2 separate regions of the Homo sapiens genome follow, and region 2 is linked to region 1. The links are contacts of gene promoters, found by promoter capture Hi-C in blood cells and fetal thymus (Javierre and others, 2016). All regions are on one chromosome and are shown on one strand. Each heading gives the region's core, a stretch centred on a gene start or on the middle of the fragment in contact. The rest is flanking DNA. Distances are from core to core; before and after follow the strand shown. Region 1 has its middle 11 kb from the start of SESN2. Region 2 holds the start of TRNAU1AP (tRNA selenocysteine 1 associated protein 1).

What was found. The method cuts DNA at HindIII sites, captures the fragments that hold promoters and counts their contacts. A CHiCAGO score of 5 or more calls a contact.
Region 2: the fragment with the promoter of TRNAU1AP here is called in contact with a fragment that was not itself captured in region 1 in 9 of 17 cell types (fetal thymus, endothelial precursors, naive CD4 T cells and 6 more); the score reaches 8.1 in fetal thymus.

What each region holds. Positions count from the first base shown.
Region 1 is chr1:28,246,141-28,250,306 of GRCh38, forward strand. No RefSeq gene overlaps it. Among named protein-coding and RNA genes, the nearest start is that of SESN2, 11 kb to the right of the region's middle. RefSeq lists enhancers at 1-43, 852-1,021, 2,263-2,462, 4,101-4,166. The HindIII fragment of the contact is 6,700 bases long and covers 1-4,166 here.
Region 2 is chr1:28,551,118-28,555,283 of GRCh38, forward strand. It overlaps TRNAU1AP (tRNA selenocysteine 1 associated protein 1), which reads left to right and starts at 1,968. Exons shown (of 9, transcript NM_017846.5): 1 at 1,968-2,020; 2 at 2,523-2,620. The coding sequence starts at 1,994. RefSeq lists enhancers at 1,680-1,974, 1,698-1,757 and silencers at 1,908-2,047, 2,980-3,274. The HindIII fragment of the contact is 4,615 bases long and covers 1-2,353 here.

The sequences.
Region 1 (4,166 bases), core at 572-3,071:
TTAATATTACAAAAATTATGAAATGTGCTAAGTGGAAAAAGCAGGCTATATAGCTATACATTATTAATACGGTATATAAACTTATATGCTATAAAAATAACCAACATGTTGGTTTCTCTTTGTAGTGCAATTGGGATTTGAGGGAGTTCTCCCTTCTCTGTTTAAAAGGATCTCTTTAAAAAACAACAAATGTAATACAACTTAGCACATAGATAGATATTAAATAAGTGTATTATATAAAGAATCTTAAAACTTCTCCCTTCTCCGTCCACCCCAGAGCTAACCAATGGTAACAGGTGCAAACTACACATCTTTCCAGATCTTTGTTTCCTCTGTGTAACTATGTATACAACTATGAGACTGTTCTATATGTATCATTGCGCAACCTCGGTTTTTGCTTCGTTCTGTTTTAACCTAACAGGAAATCCTGCATACCTTTCCATTTCAGAGCACTTGGAGCTACCTTCTGTTTCTTTGCTGTAGAAGCCGTTGTGTGAACAAATCCGTTTATTTCTCTCATCAGTCTCCTTTGATAGACATTTGGGTCACGTCCGGTTTTACGCTTTTACAATACATCAGTGAACAGCAGTAATACGAGCTCAAGACAGAAGGCCTGAAAAACATTGAAAAACACAGAGACGGAAAAAAAAAAACCACAGAGGGGGAAATATAATTTCGGGTTATTTCAGTTTCACCTTTACACTTTGTTATATTCCACATTTTTTGCAATAAATATAAATTTGGAAGTAAAAGCATAAAACGAAAATCAAACGATTGATTGATTGATTGATTGACTGAGACGGAGTATCACTCTCGTCGTCCAGGCTGGAGTGTAGTGGCGCGTTCTCGGCTCACTGCAACCTCCGTCTCCCGGATTCAAGCGATTCTCCTGCCTCAGCCTCCCGAGTAGCTGGGATTACAGGCGCCCGCCACCACGCCCGGCAAATTTCCAAACGTATATTTAAAAGAAGAAAAGGAAAAGAGGGGAAAAAAAGAAAGAAAGAAAGAAAGAAAGAAATTAGAAGCAGATGGGGCAGTTCAGCCTCTTCTCGCGGAGCGGGGCTAGACGGAGTCAGGGGCGGACCGCCACAGCCTGCACCAATCAGGACCCGGTTGATAGGCAGAGCCTGGCGACTTCGAAGACTCGCCCCCAGTCAAAGAGCCCCGGGGATTCGTTTCCGTACGCAGCCTGGAAACCAGCCTGGGCCTATCCTGCGCGCCGCTGCGGGCTACTATTGGCTGCCAAGAAACCCCGCCCATCTTCCTGCTCATTGGCCGGTGCGGTTTACGTAAGAGGAGCCTGTTGCTGAGCGAAAAGTCTGTTCTGCAATTTTCGCTAAGGAGTTGTTAACGCTGAAACCGCACTGGGCGTCCTGGGGTCAAAAAAACAATACTAGCCACAGTTTATTAAACTGCAACTAAATGCCAGGCTATGTGCGCCAAACTTTTAATATTAATGGTTGTAGGCACCTTTCTTGAACACCCACCACTATCAGCCAGTCACTGAGCCAGATCCTTCAAAATAACAGTAAAAATATAGATAATCTACAGTTTATTGAGCACTTCATCTGCATCAAGCCTTGTTAAGGGGTTTCCATGCATAAGCTCTCATTCTCACAATAGAACGGTGGAGGTAAACTATTGCCCCATTTAACATTTAACATGCAGTCCTGTAGACCCAGCTACTCGGAAGGCTGAGGTGAGAGGACCCAGGAGCTCCAAACTTAAGTGAGCTATGATCGCGCCACTGCACTCCAGCCTGGGCAACAGAACGAGACCTGTCTCAGAAAAACAAAAACGTAATAAAAGAAAAACAAAAACAAAAAAACAGGAAACGGGTTCAGAGAAGTGAAGTGTTTTGCTGAGGTTCACAAAGAAAGGGTTGGAACTGGAACCTTCAACTCCGATATCCTGATTCCAAGTGTGGCCTTTTTAGGGAGGGGGTCGGGGTACAGAATTCCGCTGGGGATAGGGAAAGGTAGGACAGGATGGTGGGAGGCCAGAGGCGTTGCTCCAGGGACAAGCCTCAGGGTGGTTCTCTGAGAATAGGATGTATAGAGCCTCTAGGAGTGGAGGGTTGGGGAAGGAAGGGAGACCAGAGGAAAGGGAGAAGTTGTTCTTTCTGAAAATGTGAGGCTTCTCTCCTGGGGCAGCCTATTAAGGTGTAGGTAGCCCTGGACCTCGAGATTCTAGTCTCCACTCTGTGGCCAACTTCCTAGGGAACCTTGGGCAAATTCCTCTCTCTCGACCTGAGGCTTCCTGCCTTGTAAGAGAGGTAGTAAGCCAAAACAATGGAAAGTGCATTCGGGCTGTGAAGTATTTTAGGACTCTGGTCCTTGCTGGCAGCAGGGGGAATCTTCAGCAACCACAGACCTTTACTTAGCTGTTGCCTGGCCTCTTTTCAAGACCTTCAGGCGGTGACATGGACCCTAACAATCCTATAAACTCAAAACGGTTTGGGCCAGCCCTTTCCTACTCCATTCTGACTTAGCTATAGCAGGATCTGGCCTGCAGGGGGCGTTGAGGAACCACTCAGCCGACAAAACTAAACTAAATCAACCAAGCAATTTGCCCAAAAGCACCCAGTGCGTTAGTTTTTGCATTTAAGAAGGGTAAACGTTTCCAAACCTGAAGATTTCTGTCCTCAGTATGCAATCGAGAAGACGAATTATATACACTGCCAGTTCTTTATGGCACCAGTTCTCTCCATAATGACTCTGCAAGTTTAGAGCTAATTTCTATTTCTTTGTTTTACAGATAGGGAAACAGATTCAAAGAGCTGGAAAAAAAAAATTCAGTTTGGGTTACTTGGCTAAAAGCTGGCACCCGAATTGCCTGACTCCTGGGAAGTGCTCTTAGGAGATAGTTGGCTTTGTTTCTGGGAGTCTGTGGTTGTACTGCCTGCTAATGCACAACTCCAAAGGACAATTTTGGTTGTGTAGCTTGACAGCTCGGCACCTGTCAGCTCTGTGCAGGAAGGACCTCCCTCCCCACCTAGCACAATGCCTGCTTCATGAGTAATTGAATTAATGTGTGACTAAGCCTTGAAGGATGGGTCTTCTTTGGCTTTATCAAACCAATTGGAGTGGAACTTCTTTCCTGAAAGTTCCCCCTGGGCAGGAATTGTATCTGAGATTAGTGGGTGGGGAGGGGGGAAACAATAAGAAGAGCTCAGAAAATGACATCTGGGGTGATAAATCACAGCCCCCCGAATGGTCCCATTACAAGGTCATTATAGTAAAGTGATCTCAGAATTTGAGACTAGAAAACTAATTCAGGAAGAATGAATACAGAACAGATGACAATCATATTAGGGTCATAATCTGAAATGGATCTAAGGCTGAAGACATCTCAAAAACATTTCAAATCCAGTCTAGGTAGGTGTATCTTTGGGACTGGAAGGTGATTGAGGAATATAAATAGCTGGCCAATCAGTGGCCTCAACATAGCTGATGCAAGAGTTGAGAGTGTGGCAACAGAAGAAGGAGATCTTTACCCAACCAAAAATACAAGGCAGTGGGGAGGGGAGGAATGTGCCCAGCCAGTGGCACCCTGCCATGCCCTGCTAGGCTGCTAGCTTCACCACTGGATTTCCCAGAGCCAGGCACAGTGCCTGGTACACACAAGATGGTAAATAAATATTTATTGAATGAAAAAAGGAAGGAAGGAACTGGAGCCCTGACCAGCAGATAGTTGCTGAGTAGAGCAGTTCAATAATTCGTCCTTTCACTTGCTCAGATTCCAGCTGCCTTAGCCACCTTCAGATGATAAATTTGCCTTTCAGTAAAGGCTCTCCTACAAAGAGGAATGCCCTGGCCTCTCAATTACAGGTCGCTTGACAGTTATGTTTCTCACTTCCAATTAATATATCTGCTTTAAGCATCAGTTCCTTTTGCCAGCCGGCTTCTTACATATTCATGTGTTTGTCTCATCAATGGAGTGGTGGAGTTTCTGCATAGGAGTCATTCCTGCCTGGGTTGGAATCCTTACTCAGCATATTACTAACCTATCTGACCTTGGTCCAGACGTGTTACCTCTTGAGTCTCAGTTTTCTCATCAGTCAAATGGAGACACAATAGCCTGTTTCACAACGTTGTGGTGAGAGTTACCTGAGACAGTGATGTATCCTGAATTCTTGCTGGAGCTCAGTAACTCTTAATGTCTGT
Region 2 (4,166 bases), core at 718-3,217, 310 kb after region 1:
TCTCAGGAAGAAATGCTGAAAACTTCATTTACAGCCTTGTTGCTGACAGCCAAACTACCAGGTAGCCCAGTACTAAAGATAATCATTGGCTGGGCGCGATGGGTGGCTCACGCCTGTAATCCCAGCACTTTGGGAGGCCGAGGTGGGTGGATCACCTCAGGTCAGGAGTTCGAGACCAGCCTGACCAACATGGTGAAACCCCGTCTCTACTGAAAATACAAAAATTAGCTGTGCCTGGTGGTGGGCGCCTGTAATCCCAGCTACTCAGGAGGTGAAGCAGGAGAATAGCTAGAACCCAGGAGGCTAGATTCTAGCTATTCTGAGCCGAGATTGTGCCATTGCACTCCAGCCTGGGCGACAAAGGAAGACTCCGTCTCAAAAAAAAAAAAAAAGATAATCATTACAACAGGATATGCTGACCTTCATACCCCACCCTCATGAGCTTTGTCCTGCCCAGCCTGTAAACCCTACACTTGATATCACTTTCCGTGCTTTGCCCAATAAAACATCTCAACCAGCTCTTTTCGGAGAGTCAGGGAATTCTCGCTCTCTTGTGCTGCCTCCCTTATACCCAGGCATAAGCTCCAATGAAGACTTGTCTGGGAAAACTTTTTTGGCCTCATGTTAATTTCTGTTGGATTGAGAGCCTAAGAACCCCTGGTAACAATAGGGAGGTAGTGGAACCGGGTTGTCCGGAGGGATATTTTCACTTTTTTGGATGCACTTGTATCTGCAGTTTTTTACAACGAGCATATATTAATGTTGTAATTATGTGTGTGTTTGTGTGTGTGTGTACGTGTGTATGTTTTTTGTTTTTTGTTTTTTTTTTAATTTGAGACAGAGTCTCACTCTGTCGCCCAGGCTGGAGTGCAGTGGCGCGATCTCGGCTCACTGCAGCCTCTGCCTCCCGGGTTCAAGTGATTATCCTGTCTCAGCCACCTGAGTAGCTGGGACTACAAGTGCACACCATCATACCCGGCTAATTTCTGTATTTTTAGTAGAGACGGGGTTTCACCATGTTGGCCAGGATGGTCTCGATCTCCTGACCTCGTGATCTGCCCACCTCGGCCTCCCAAAGTGTTGGGATTACAGGCGTGAGCCACCGCGCCCGGCCTTGTTTGTTTTCTAAATATGTAAAGTCAGAAATTAACCCAAGTAACGAGCATACATATATATGTGTGTGTGTGTGTGTATATATGTATATATATGTGTATGTGTGTATATATGTGTATATGTGTATTATGTGTGTATATGTGTATATATGTGTATATATATGTGTATGTGTGTGTGTGTGTGTATGTATATATATGGAGTCTTGCTCTGTCACCAGGCTGCGGTGCAATGGCGCTATCTCGGCTCACTGCAACTTCTGCCCCCTGGGTTTAAGCGATTCTCCTGCCTCAGTCTCCCGAGTAGCTGCGACTACCAGCGCTCGCCACCACGCCCGCTAATTTTCGTACTTTTAGTAGAGAGGGGGTTTCCCCCTGTTGGCGAGGATGGTCTCGATTTCTTCACCTCGTGATCCGCCCGCCTCGGCCTCCTCAAGTGCTGGGATTACAGGCGTGAGCCACCGTGCCCAGCCCTAACGAGCATATATTAATGTTGTAATTATATGTGTCTGTGTGTGTGTGGTTTTGTTTTCTATATAAAGTCAGACGAGTGTGTGTGTGTAGTTTTGTTTGTTTTCTAAATATATAAAGTCAGAAATAAACCCAAGTAACCCAGCCGCCTGGGCCAGGTGGTATCTGGCCCGCCCCATTCCAGCCTGAACTCCGCCCACCGCGATCCGGAAGCCTAGCGCCCAGTGGGTTGCAGGAAAAACCCGGAGCTGAACACACTGCCCGACCCGGGCCGCTGCGCTCGGGAGCCTGCGCAGAAGCCGTCGGAGGCGCATGCTCTGTAGCGGTCTCCGCAGCCAGGATTGGCGCCCGCGCGGGCCTTCGAGCCCCGCCCGCAGAGCCCCGCCCGCAAAGCCCCACCCCGGTGCGCGGGTATGGCGGCCAGCCTGTGGATGGGCGACGTGAGTGAGGGCAGCCGTCCGGGGTCTGAAGACAAGGAAGCATCTCGGTTTCGCGAGAGAGGAAGGATCTGAGTGGGAGGGGACTTGGGATCCCAGAAAGGGGAGACGTGTGACGGGGGTTCTTTTTGGTGACACAGAAGCGGGTTCCAGCATCTAAGTGAAGAGGCTGAGTCCGTGAGGCTAGGGGTCCTGGGGCCCCACCTGGGTTCGTGGGAGGGAAAGGTGGTGCTTTGGGGACATAGAATGGGAGCAATCCAAGGACTGAGGCGCGCTGTTCTGGGACCGGAGGAGTGGGGTTTCTAGGTCCAAGGGGAGGCTCCCTAAAGCGGGGCAAGCTTGAACCAAAAGAGCTGGGGTTTCAGGCCGCTCAGTGGAGGCGAACCTCGCCCCTCGCTCCCCCAGCGGCGCGTAGCCAGCCCTGGGCTGAACGGGAGGGGCTCTGGAACCCGGAGTGGGAAGCCCGGCCGCCGGCCTGAGCCGCTGTGCTCTTGTTTTTACGCAGCTGGAACCCTACATGGATGAGAACTTCATCTCCAGAGCCTTTGCCACCATGGGGGAGACCGTAATGAGCGTCAAAATTATCCGAAACCGCCTCACTGGGTAAGTCTCATCTCAGGTCTCTCTTAATACATCTCGTTGCAGCTGTCATGTACGAGAATGTAAACATCGTAGTCATGGCTTCTCACTACCCCTAGTAATAGTCACTGTAAAATTATAACAGCTAACATTTTGAGGTCCCAATGAGTGGAAGGATGGCATGTAGCTTAAGGGTAGGACTTGCCAGGCGTTGTGACTCACACCTGTAATCCCAGCACTTTGGGAGGCTGAGGTGGGTGGATCACCTGAGGTCAGGAGTTTGAGACCAGCCTGGCCAACATGGTGAAACCCCGTCTCTACTAAAAATACAAAAATTAGCCGGGTGTGGTGGCAGGCACCTGTAACCCCAGCTACTCCGGAGGCTGAGGCATGAGAATCACTTGAACCCGGGAGGCGAAGGTTGCAGTGAGCTGAGATCGTGCCACTGTACTTCAGCTTGGACAACAAGAGCAAAACAATGTCTCAAAAAAAAAAAAAACAAAAAAACAAAAAACGCAGGACTCAAGCGAGACTGGGTTTGAAAGCTATTTCTACTCTATGACCTTGGGTAAGTTACTTAACTGCTCTGTCTCATTCACTTTGAGTATAAAAATGGAAATAACAGCACCTACCTCCTAGAGTTATGGTGAGGATTAAATGAGTTAATTCACATTCATCATTAGGACAGTGTATGGCATATAGCATATGCTCAGTAAGTATAGTCAGATTACGATCTGCTGAGTAATAAGCAGTTTACATCCATTATCTCCTTAAAACCTCAGAAACTTCTGAGGTAGGTAAATACTATTATGAAGAGGCTTAATAACTTGAAGAGTTACAATAAATAGCCGGGCGCAGTGGCTCTCGCCTGTAATCCTAGCACTTTGGGAGGCCGAGGCAGGCCGGATCACGAGGTCAGGAGATTGAGACCATCCTGGCTAACACGGTGAAACCCCATCTCTACTAAAAATACAAAAAAAATTAGCTGGGCATGGTGGCGGGCACTTGTAGTCTCAGCTACTTGGGGGGCTGAGGCAGGAGAATGGCGTGAACCCAGGAGGCGGAGCTTGCAGTGAGCCGAGATCGCTCCACTCCACTCCAGCCTGGGCGACAGCTGAGACTCTGTCTCAAAAAAAAAAAAAAAGAGTTATAATAAATAACAAGTCAGGACTTGAATTCGAGTCTATCCTGAAAGCTCATGAGGGCCCTTAACTCTTATGCCATTCATTTAAAAAATTGTGGAGGATGGGTGCGGTGCCTCATGCCTGTAATCCCAGCACTTCGGGAGGCGAGAAGGGTGGATCACCTGAGGTCAGGAGTTGGAGACCAGCCTGACCAACATGGAGAAACCCTGTCTCTACCAAAAATTAGCCAGGCGTGGTGGTGCATGCCTGTAATCCCAGCTACCTGGGAGGCTGAGGCAGGAGAATCGCTTGAACTTGGGAGGCAGAGGTTGTAGTGAGCCGAGATCGCGCCATTGCACTCCAGCCTGGGCAATAAGAGCGAAACTCCATCTCAAAAAAAAAAAAAAAATTATCTGTGGAGATACTACTGTGTTCTACTGTTATAC